Linked DNA regions of Homo sapiens: regions 1, 3 and 4 are each linked to region 2. The links are contacts of gene promoters, found by promoter capture Hi-C in human tissues and cell types (Jung and others, 2019). All regions are on one chromosome and are shown on one strand. Each heading gives the region's core, a stretch centred on a gene start or on the middle of the fragment in contact. The rest is flanking DNA. Distances are from core to core; before and after follow the strand shown. Region 1 overlaps RIT2 (Ras like without CAAX 2). Region 2 holds the start of SYT4 (synaptotagmin 4). Region 3 overlaps RIT2 (Ras like without CAAX 2). Region 4 overlaps RIT2 (Ras like without CAAX 2).

The links. Contacts are between HindIII fragments. The study calls those that stand out against the background at their distance.
Region 1: a fragment that was not itself captured here is called in contact with the fragment with the promoter of SYT4 in region 2 in 2 of the 25 tissues and cell types used here (dorsolateral prefrontal cortex and hippocampus).
Region 3: a fragment that was not itself captured here is called in contact with the fragment with the promoter of SYT4 in region 2 in 5 of the 25 tissues and cell types used here (dorsolateral prefrontal cortex, hippocampus, mesendoderm cells and 2 more).
Region 4: a contact is called between a fragment that was not itself captured here and the fragment with the promoter of SYT4 in region 2, in 3 of the 25 tissues and cell types used here (dorsolateral prefrontal cortex, mesendoderm cells and thymus).

Annotation. Positions count from the first base shown.
Region 1 is chr18:43,015,659-43,018,358 of GRCh38, reverse strand. The region is part of intron 2 of RIT2 (Ras like without CAAX 2); the gene reads left to right. Among named protein-coding and RNA genes, the nearest start is that of RIT2, 99 kb to the left of the region's middle. The HindIII fragment of the contact is 4,069 bases long and covers 1-2,700 here.
Region 2 is chr18:43,276,064-43,278,763 of GRCh38, reverse strand. It overlaps SYT4 (synaptotagmin 4), which reads left to right and starts at 1,274. Exons shown (of 4, transcript NM_020783.4): 1 at 1,274-1,516. The coding sequence starts at 1,483. The HindIII fragment of the contact is 4,332 bases long and covers 1-2,700 here.
Region 3 is chr18:42,978,595-42,981,294 of GRCh38, reverse strand. The region is part of intron 2 of RIT2 (Ras like without CAAX 2); the gene reads left to right. Among named protein-coding and RNA genes, the nearest start is that of RIT2, 140 kb to the left of the region's middle. The HindIII fragment of the contact is 7,856 bases long and covers 1-2,700 here.
Region 4 is chr18:42,793,214-42,795,913 of GRCh38, reverse strand. All of the region lies in intron 4 of RIT2 (Ras like without CAAX 2), which reads left to right. Among named protein-coding and RNA genes, the nearest start is that of RIT2, 320 kb to the left of the region's middle. The HindIII fragment of the contact is 4,951 bases long and covers 1-2,700 here.

The DNA.
Region 1 (2,700 bases), core at 166-2,665, 260 kb after region 2:
AGAAACAGATATAACTTTGAATACATAATTTTGTATAGGGCCTTGGAAGACACCTCTGCAAGTAAGCAGCCCAAAACTTCAGTTCTAATAGTGTCACAGTCAATTGCCCTCTGCAATGCCTTCTGCCTCTTTCTCTGATGCCAGAAACATCTGTGGCTACTCTGATCACTCTTCGCGTTAGGGGCAGTGTGAGGGAAAGGGAGTCAGAGGGATAAGACAGTGAACTGAACTGTGTGATTAATTTTACAAATTTTACAAGCTGTTTGACCTTGAGCCCAACTTACTAGGGCACCCCCTTACTAACTCTTTATGTGGTACAAAAAAAGGAAGAAATTTCACATCAGAATAAACTTAGTAACACTGCAGTCTACTTTCTTACTCTTGCAGTAAACGTGTGTGTATCAGGTTGCAAAGACAATTTTCTTCCTATATTCACCAAAATTACTGATTCACTGTAAATAATCAAAACCTTCTAAAACTAATGGCCAGCCCTACCAGCTCACAGATGGATGTTTGATGCATCTGGCTTTAAGTAGCATGTGACTGTCATCTGTGTGATGCTGGGAAGATAACTACATTTCTACATATGATTTACTGAACTCTATTTCTCCAAATGAAAAATGGAAATAATAACTCTCCCTACCACATAAGTCTCCTGTGAGGGTTAATTGAGATAATAAATGTGAAGTGCTTAGCCTAGAACCTGGCATACTGTAACCATTTCCTAATTCTAAATACTAACTACTACTGCTAAGTAATGTAATAAAAACAATGTTATCATTATTCTTTTAATATCGTTTTCAGATAGTACTATAACCAATGAAATATTTAGTTAACCATCTTTGATGCTGACTAAATTCAGAAGCTAATTAAAATAAGTGCTGGTCAACCTAAATAACTAAGCAAACATGAACCAATTGTGTTATGAAATCAAATTACTTATATTTATATTTTGTATTATTTTAATAGCTTATTTTTAAAGATATCTTTTATTATTTATTGACTCCTAATAAGCCAATTATGTAAATAATTAGAGTGAGAAGAAAAGTATTCATGTAGACATGACCTACATATTGACTGATTGCTGATGAAAGCAAATTGAGATGTAAAAGCTATTTTAAGCGTACCTAAAATGAGCTAACAAAGTGTGCATTTGCCTCTCCCAATTTGTGTAATTATCATTTTTAAAATGTAGAGTGTGAAATATTCTACTTAGGGATACATTTAAAATTGTAACATACCGCTCAGTACTTTCAATGATTTAGTGTAATTTAGACACATTTACCTAGTGCCATATATTTAGAAGTTGGTAAAACTAGGATCCTAATCCATAATTTTTGACCCCAGTGTCAGAGCTGTTTACAATTACCTTTTAATTTTTGGCCTCTTCAAAGAAGAGCTTTGTTATTAGCCATGGCAGATTCTGCTTAAAGCTTTTAATTTAACTAATGTAATTTTAACTACTATGTTGATATGGTTCCTGGTGACTAAGGAGGACAACATTCTGACATTTCACACTGAAGTTGTCCATATTAGTATGCATTTATTCAGCACGAAGTGAGGACATGGAGAAAAATATTTAGAAATATTTGGTTAGTCAGATTCATGGTAAATAATCAAATTGAATATGTCAATTTTCCATATTCTATAATTTGACTTTCTCTGATTAAAGATAGTCCCATAATGTGCATTCTCATTAGTACAAAGATAGATAATTTTCTTTAACTTTGAATATTTCCTGGACGCAGTCATTTAGAGTTGGTGTGCTTATGACTTACCTGGGGCAGAGGGTGGGGGGATAAAACGTCTTATTTTATAATGTTTTAGTATGTTCTGTACATTTAGAATTTATATGATGAAAAGGGACTGAATTAAATATCAGAAAAGCAGAGTCCAAATTAGTTGTCCTTCTCTGCAAGTTATTGATCCAATCTGAGCCTTTTTTTCTTATTTGTAAAATAATGCCAGCCATATTTATTTTTAAAAACAAAAATGAAACTGTTTTGAAGCTAAAATTAACTATGTAAAAAGCAATTTAAAACCTATCAAGCACCACACCAATGGAAGCAACAATTCGTGTGTATTAGAAAACAACTAAAATTTATTTTATCTTTCTATTTTTGTCAGTCATGTGAAATGATAGGAAACAAATCTTCCAGATGCATATAATCTGTGAAAGTCATAAATAAAAGTTGATGCATCTTCATGCTTACTTGACTATTTGATGCTTTTGTACATTAAACAAATTCTCACTTTTTTAATTAGAAGCTGGATAGTAGCATTTTTTAAAAATGTATTTATTTTCCTAATGTCCTTACATAGTCATGCACCTAGGAATAATTAAACCTTCATTAGTCAAACCAAGTTAACTAACTGGAAGCTTCTCAGCAGTTGAATATATGAGGCCATAGGAGACTGTTTAAGATAGACAGGGGTTACAAGTATCAGCACGTGAGTGGTGTTTTTACTTTAAGCTTCCATATACTGTCATATTTTGTGCATGATAGCCAGTCAATGTTTTACTCTACTTCTAAGAGGTAACCAATACTGGTGATTATGCCCTTTTTGGGGGAAGCATTCTTTTCTTTTGTCTTCTTCAACATAATCCCACAGCTTATGGCTCATTACTTATTTTCAGGCACTGCTCTGCTGCTTTTGGAAACTCATTCTGGGATATCTGATCAATAAATCTAGGTATTT
Region 2 (2,700 bases), core at 25-2,524:
AAGCATGAAGATATAAAGTTTAAAAAAATCTGTTAGAGGAACACTCCAATGCCAAGTATGTGGGAGCAAATAGAATAGCAAAGAAAAAAGACTGGTTTATAAAATTTTCCATGATGCAAAGAACTGAAGCCAATTTCTCCCCAGACAGAGCCCTGATGCTCTGGGCTGCTGCTAGCCAATGTGCAGGGACCTGTCACTTGCACAGTAGCTTTCTGAGACTCACCCTGTATCCCTTCTCCCACATCCCAGCACACACTGAATGCCATTTCCTTATTAACTCCAGAGCAAAGAAATTCTTTGCAGAGCAATAATTGACAGTTGGAGTTACAGCTTGACTTCTTTCCTTTGAAAAATTGCTAAGCATTTGTTTTAGAAAGGCACACTCTTCAGATTCCAATGAATCAGAATCCGACACCATATTTTTCACAGTTTTTCACCTCCGAGAATATCATCAGTTTAGAAAAAGGAATGCTTTCCTTTGAAATAACCAATGTTACCAATGTTACTTTAGATGTTGGCCTGATTTTGGAAACTATTTTGTACAAACGTACTAGAAGTCAGGCCTTTTAACCATAAATGTCATTTCAGAAGCGCCTTATTATTTGCAAAAGTCATAACTGAGAGTGACTCTGAATATCCAAGGAATTATCCCCATCTGTTCCTAAGTGCTTTAACTGGTCAAATGTCAGATATTAAAGGGAAGAGAGCTGAGAGACCAGGAAAGATCAACTGTTCCAGCAAAATATTTAGACTAATAATTTATTAGAACATAAAGGATTATACTGGGAAAACTATCTTATATCAAATGCATCAATTTGTAGTGAATCTTTTCTAAATGTAATAAGTATCATAGGTATAACATGTCAAAGAAAAAAATTAAAAAGCAAGAAAACATGTTTTTGCATGTTAAAAAGAGTAATTTGAAGCAGAAACTTCTCCTCTGTAAGTTACGTTATTCTGAAAACTCAGAAACATATTTTTATTCATCTAGGTGATCAGGAGATTTTATATTAGGAACTGACAGGGATCAGTTTCGGGGCTTATCTCGGTGAGCCTCTGAGCCCCCACAAAACAGCAAAGCTAATCTCTAGTGGTCCAACAGTTAAAATAATTGATGAGCATGTGTTGAATCCTCAAGAGAGGAGGGAGGAAGCAAGAAGGAAAGCTTGAAGGGAGGAGGGGAGGGGGGCAGGTGCTGATTTCAGCCCTGTAGCGTCAGGATTGCGTCAATTCGGGTTCCAGCCACGTCTGGAGTCTCGGAGACGAGCTTCTCAGAAGAGCCAAAACAGGAACCGAGGTGGCAAATCACTGTGCGAGGGCGAGTGGACCTCCCTCTTTGCCTCCTCCCTGTTCCAGGAGCTGGTGCCCTGGGCTCTGCGCTGTTGTTTTCAGCGCTCCGAAAGCCGGCGCTTGAGATCCAGGCAAGTGAATCCAGCCAGGCAGTTTTCCCTTCAGCACCTCGGACAGAACACGCAGTAAAAAATGGCTCCGATCACCACCAGCCGGGAAGAATTTGGTAAGCAAGTTACTGAACTTATGACTGCGGTTATTCCTTGAATACTCTGGGGTGGACTGTTTATTCATTTATTTTTTGCCCGGTTGTTGAATACAGATTTCCTAGGTAGTTAATTTAAAAGGAAAATGAGAATGGCAGTCAGGCAATTGTGGCTTATTTCTGCAGCTTCTCTCCCTTCCTTGGTATCTCTCTCCCTGAAACTGTCTTCTGTTAGGGAGAATTTACCTTCAGGAAGTTCTTAAATTTTCAGGTACTTCTGTAAATTGCAGCATGTACTGAGTAAAGAAAAAGGGGTCTGTTTTTCCCATGTTGGTTTCATCTATTTTGTAGGTGATTCTTATTTGTAGGTAAATCTATATTTTATTAGGAGAAGATAAATATATCTCTGGTTACATTGGGGTTTGATCTTGGTTAAAAAAAGCAACTTGTCTATTGGGGTTTGGCAATGTATATTTTATTACAGGGCGTACCATATGGGTGTTTTTCTCTGCTATGTTTTTCTTGTATCCTTGAAATATGTTGCTAGTGAAAGACAGAATCATATGGTAGCAGGGTTAAAGAGAGTTTCAAAATGAACTGGCTCAGCCCATTTCATTTCACTGCTGAGCTAACCAAAGCCCAGAGAGATGAGGGAAGTATTATAGGTTGCACAATTAGCTAAAAGCTGCTGGAAACTTGAATTAGGGCTCCAATTTTCCCGTTCAGTTTTCCTTTTCTCACACCAAGTTTTTGGTTTCAGTACATAAAATTAGACGTACTTCATAGAGTAAAAAAGTACTATTTTTAGATCTCAGTATATTCCAAAGGAAAAAGGTCAGAATTTTACTTACACGTATTTTTTAAATCATGAAATTTCATAGAAGGTTGTGAAGAGGAGTGATATCTACAGATGTGTGATAATTGTTATTAAGCTGAGTAAAATAACTATGATCTTGACTTTCAAGATTGTAAGACCTTATCAGTAGAGAATACATAGGGAGTAGATAAGTGTTTCCACGTTATAGAAAATGTTTGCCATTTGACATAACTATTCAATAGGGACAATTTGTGATATTATGTTCATAAATGAATTTCTTTCCCAGCCTTCCATTTGGGTTATTGGGTTTATTTTGGTATGACATTTATTCCCAATTCTTCATTTGAAACCTGAATGATTTTCTAATATGGAGGAATTTTTAGAGACT
Region 3 (2,700 bases), core at 170-2,669, 300 kb after region 2:
TATACAACCTCTGGAAGACAGGTATTGCAGAGATCATGGTCTTAGGATCATAAAGCCATTTTTCAAGGGTATTTTTGAGGTGTTAAAAAGGTAGACCAAGAGATGCCAGGTGCTGGGGAGGAAAGATTATTTTCTTCTCTTCCCCTTCATCCCCAAGCAATAATTAAGTGAGGCAGACACAAAGAACTGGAGACATTCAGCATCAGTGACCGTGACCTAGTCCTGTTGCTCATATTTATTTGGCAGAAGACAGCCAGGGAATTAGGTTTCCAATGGATCCTTCTACTCTCTCAGGTTGAAAGGAAAAGATTAAATGTTTCTAACATATGAGAGACACACTGAAGCATTTTCTGTAGATAATGACTTTGGGGAAGAGCAGTCATTTGGCTGTTCCTTCTGCATACTCTTGCCAGGGCTACATGTCCCCTCATCAGAAGATCAGTATATTCCTTATCAAATACATCTCCATCTGCTTGTCCTTGATCTGATAAGTCATTGTTTAAAATGACATCTTCCAGTAGTGGTCCTCTGTACCTGCAAATCTCCAGGTAGGGTTCTGTGTCTCCACAGGACACACCCCAGCTTGCCCTTCCTCATTGGGTTTTCTGTTCTTGGCAAGGCCTCCTGCAGAGGAGTCCAGGGGCACAGACATTCTGACAAGCATGTTAGTCACTGGAGAATCTGCCTGCAAACACCACAGAAAGTGTGTGATTGGCCACTTTGGGCAGACTTTCCAGAGCAGTAACACTGGGAATCTCCGGGGGGTATCAGAGAGATACTGATTGGTATCAACTACCCTATTACCTACCTAGTGGTAGTGGGGTAGTTGACACCAATCAGCATCCCTCTGATACTAGGGAGATTCCATCTATATAAATAGATGCTAGTGGGGTAGTTGATTTCTGGGGGAAAGATTTCAATTGCTGTGTAAGTCAGATATCATCTGGAAGCTCCTATTTCTCAGAGACCTAAGTAAACTGTACTGAATTCTCAATATTACAGCATGAGAAAAAATCCATGCTCTGCCTTATAATTCCTGTGAATTTCTAGGGTTTAGGTCCTTGTGGTACCCTGTCTTCAGCTTTTACTTCTATGATAGGAAAGGTTGTTCTTCTTTGCCCTGAGTCGTCCCACAAACTCAGTTCAGCCAGTTTTACAAGCCTTTTTCACAGCCAACAAACAGGTAGACTTTTATGACATTTCACTGAATGTTTAGGCCCAAAGGAAGGGTTACATCAGATCTCATGCAACTTCTTTTCTCTTTTCGTGGCAGAGCCCTCCTTGTCTTCCTCCTTCCTAACTCTGTTTTCAATCCATCACTTGAAGAACTGACCTTAGCTCAACATCAGTTCCTCTGAGTGTTCTCTGACATCTCCCTAAATAAGCACCCTTCAAAGTACTTCTAATGTAGCACTCATTAAAATACAGTGCAATTGCTTTTTTATGTATTCCCACAAGATTATAAATTCAATGTGGGTGGAAACCACCTGGCTTTTTCAGTTGTGTAGACTGTATTGCCATCTGAGTGTGCAGCACCTATTACATACTCAAATACATATTGAACCCTTTATTGATCAATATATTGATACATACATTAGATTTGTATCAATGCTGATTCATCCAGGATTTAACATTTTGGTCAAGAAAAAGTGTGCAGCACAGTACGTTGCAAGATACTTCTGCTCTGTACACACAGACACACATATGTACCTACAATTGAGATGATTTATTCAAGTAATCCTTTGAGAAAGATCTTATAAATTGATTCTATGAGACTTTGTACTATTTATTGCCTTTAAAAAATTTGGGTCAGTGATTAATATCTTGGAGGTGTATAATAGCTTGGAGTTATAGAAAAATAGCTTCATTGTAATATGAATTATATATTTCAGATTATGAGGTAAACCATGTAAGAAGTATTCAATCATCTTAAGATATTTGAAAATCATTTAATGAAAATTTACCATTAAATTTCTGATATTTTTTTCTTAGTTATATATTTTGGTGGTCTTATATTATCCTAATTTTATATTTGCAACTAAAATATTTTAAAATTATGTAAATGAATATGTTTATTCTGAAAAAAATACATTAGCTGCTTTGGGAAAATTATCCAGAATACCTTACACTTTTTAATTAATCAAAAACTTTATATTTCTAGTTATTATTGCAAACATATCTTGCCAAAAAGTTTATGATTTACTTGGGAAAAACATTTCCACATGGGTAAATATAAATAGCAGAAATAATTTAGTTTTAATTTAGTTTCATGGCTAATTTGAAGCAGTACTAAATAAAACTCATAACATAATATTCCTTGAGTTTGAATTTTGCTTTCTTTTTTCAAAAGCACTGTCTTATGTGCTACTTTTGTTGATCCTTATAGAACTCCCATGCGTTGACTAGTGTTACTATTATCGCCATCTTACAAATAAGGTTTCATGGCCAACCAATAACAGATATTTAGTGATAGATTTGAGGCTTTAATATAGGTCTTTAGTGATTTCTTCTTATGCAATTCTGCTGAAGAGGGACAGTGGAGAAGATATATCCTGAGAAGCAATGATCTCAAATTAAACATTAGTACTTTGAGATAAATTTTAAGGTAGTGGATGCCTCCAAGAATGCAGTCCTAGTGTGCTTTTCTGCGCAAATGATACAGCAGGCAGCTGCTACCATTTCTGCCTGATAAAGCTTTGT
Region 4 (2,700 bases), core at 78-2,577, 480 kb after region 2:
CACTAGATTAACTAGATACAGAGTGTCCACACAAAGGTCCTCCAAGGCCCCACCAGAGTAGCTAGATACAGAGTGTCGATTGGTGCATTCACAAACCCTGAGCTAGACACAGGGTGCTGATTGGTGTGTTTACAAACCTTGAGCTAGATACAGAGTGCCGATTGGTGTATTTACAATCCCTGAGCTAGACATAAAGGTTCTCCAAGGCCCCAACAGACTCAGGACCCCAGCTGGCTTCACCCAGTGGATCCCGCACCCGGGCTGCAGGTGGAGCTGCCTGCCAGTCCCGTGCCGCGCCCGCAGTTCTCAGCCCTTAGGTGGTCGATGGGACTGGGCGCCGTGGAGCAGGGGGCTGCGCTCATCCGGGAGGCTCAGGCGCACAGGAGCCCATGGAGGGGGTGGGAGGCTCAAGCATGGCGGGCTGCCGGTCCCGAGCCCTGCCCCGCGGGAAGGCAGCTAAGTCCCGGTGAGAAATCGAGAGCAGCGCCAGTGGGCTGGCACTGCTAGGGGACCCAGTACACCCTCCACAGCCGCTGGCCCGGGTGCTAAGTCCCTCATTGCCCGGGGCTGGCAGGGTCGGCCGTCTGTTCCAAGCCCACGCCCACCCGGAACTCCAGCTGGCCCGCAAGCACTGCACGCAGCCCCGGTTCCTGCTCGCGCCTCTCCCTCCACACCTCCCTGCAAGCTGAGAGAGTGGGCTCCGGCCTTGGCCAGCCCAGAAAGGGGCTCCCACAGTGCAGTGGTGGGCTGAAGGGCTCCTCAAGTGCCGCCAAAGTGGGAGCCCAGGCAGAGGAGGTGCCGAGAGCGAGCGAGGGCTGTGAGGACTGCCAGCACACTGTCACCTCTCAGTGCGACCAGGAGCGGATATGGGTCCTCTTGCCCATCTCTCTCCTTAGTTTCAAAAAAAGAAAAACATTTAAAATGTTAGTGTCAATTTTTCTACTGTCTTTGACATATTAAAGATTTTTTTCATGGAAAAGAAATGTCATAAGTAAATGGTATGTGCCTCTCACCAGTGTCAACTTATCTGGCAATTATTTTTATCATTTTTATTGTGCATTATTTCTCATCAGGCTAAAAGAAAAATTAGCAAGGCAGTCCTCAAAGATTTCTCATTCCTCTTTTGATAAATAACATGCTATAAATCAGCTTTTACTGCATAATATGAACTGTTTCCTATAATAAACGTGCACCATACAATAATTCCATCACTTTTATTAGCTCTGAGGGTTTTAAAAAATTATTTCAGCTGTTTGCACAGACATCCATGTGAAATATTTTTTTAAATCAGAAGTAGAAATCAGAGATATAAACTGTGTCTCTAAGATTTAACTATCTGTATTAACCTTAAAAAATGTAAGCTCATGTTTGCTTATGTTTCTAGCTTTGCAAGAGAACTGTTAGGAGAATTTTGGAAGATGTACTGTAGAAGCAAGCATTGTAATTAATGCAAAACTGATTCACTAATTAGTCAAACCTAGATTATTCAATGATCTATACCTTTCAATATGATATCATATAAATGACTTATTTTATTTGGGCTAGGTTGATATTGCCTACTTTAAAAATGAAGATTCCAATGATTGAAAAGATTAGTGGCTTGTCTGATGCTACTAAGTCAGGGAAGAACCATGGCTACAACATTGCTACAACATTGCATTCTTTATGCCTGGGGAAGTTCTGACTGCTTGTGTCTGCTAGGCAACGTGTGGCCTAGCACCCTGCAGGGCACTCTGGAAGGAGGAAAAGAAGGAGTGCCTGGCCTTACCTTCACCAGAAAGAGTGAACTGTTTTCTTGGAGGAAAATAGAATGTATGCTTATGAGATAACCGCATTCTTTCTTATACTCTAGTTAAATAGTGAACTTGGGAGCACAGAAAATTTAAGTATACGACAGTCTCAGGAAAAAAAAAAAGTTAATTGTAGGGTGCTAATGAGAAATTGTAAGGGATTTGGATATGAGAGAAGGCTTTTCCAAAAGTCATTAGGGTGTCCCAGAAAATGTGGAAAGAAAAAGTCAAGAAAGTTTTTGGTTAATCTTGATACCCATCTTCCTCTATCAAGTAATAAATAACAGGAGTAGAGGAGTAAAAATTAATCATGATTCAAAAATAGTATTTGACCCAGTGGATCACTCTTTTCTCCTTAGAATACTTCTTGCTTTCACTTGAATGTTTACTTTGAAGCTTCTGTCTACTCCTTCTTAGTCTTTTTTCCCTTTGGGTTCTCTTTATCTGTCCAACTTCTAAATTTGGAATGCCCAGGTCTCAGTCCTCAGGCCTCTTTGTTTGTTTGTTTGTTTGTTTTCTAACTGTACTCACTTATTGGGTGATCTCATTCAGTTTCATGACTTTATTTGGCATTAATATGTTGAAGTCCCCCAGATTTATTTCCCTTAATGAGACCTTTTCCTTAAACAAGAACAAAGAAAGATGACTGGCTGAGAAGTCAGAATAGGATTTATGTAATAGCTATATGGAATCTGAGCTGATTTAAAATGATAGTGTAGGTTCTTAGATACAGAGGAAGAGTAGATGTATGAGGGATGATTAAAAATGCCTGTGTACTGTTCAACAGGCCAAGAAGTAAAACAGTTTAAATGAAGAATTTCTGTCTGGCAGTATAGGGGGAAAAGCTTAGAAAATTTGACTGGTATCATTTTATAGATAAAAATTAAACTCAAAAGATGAAATTTTATTT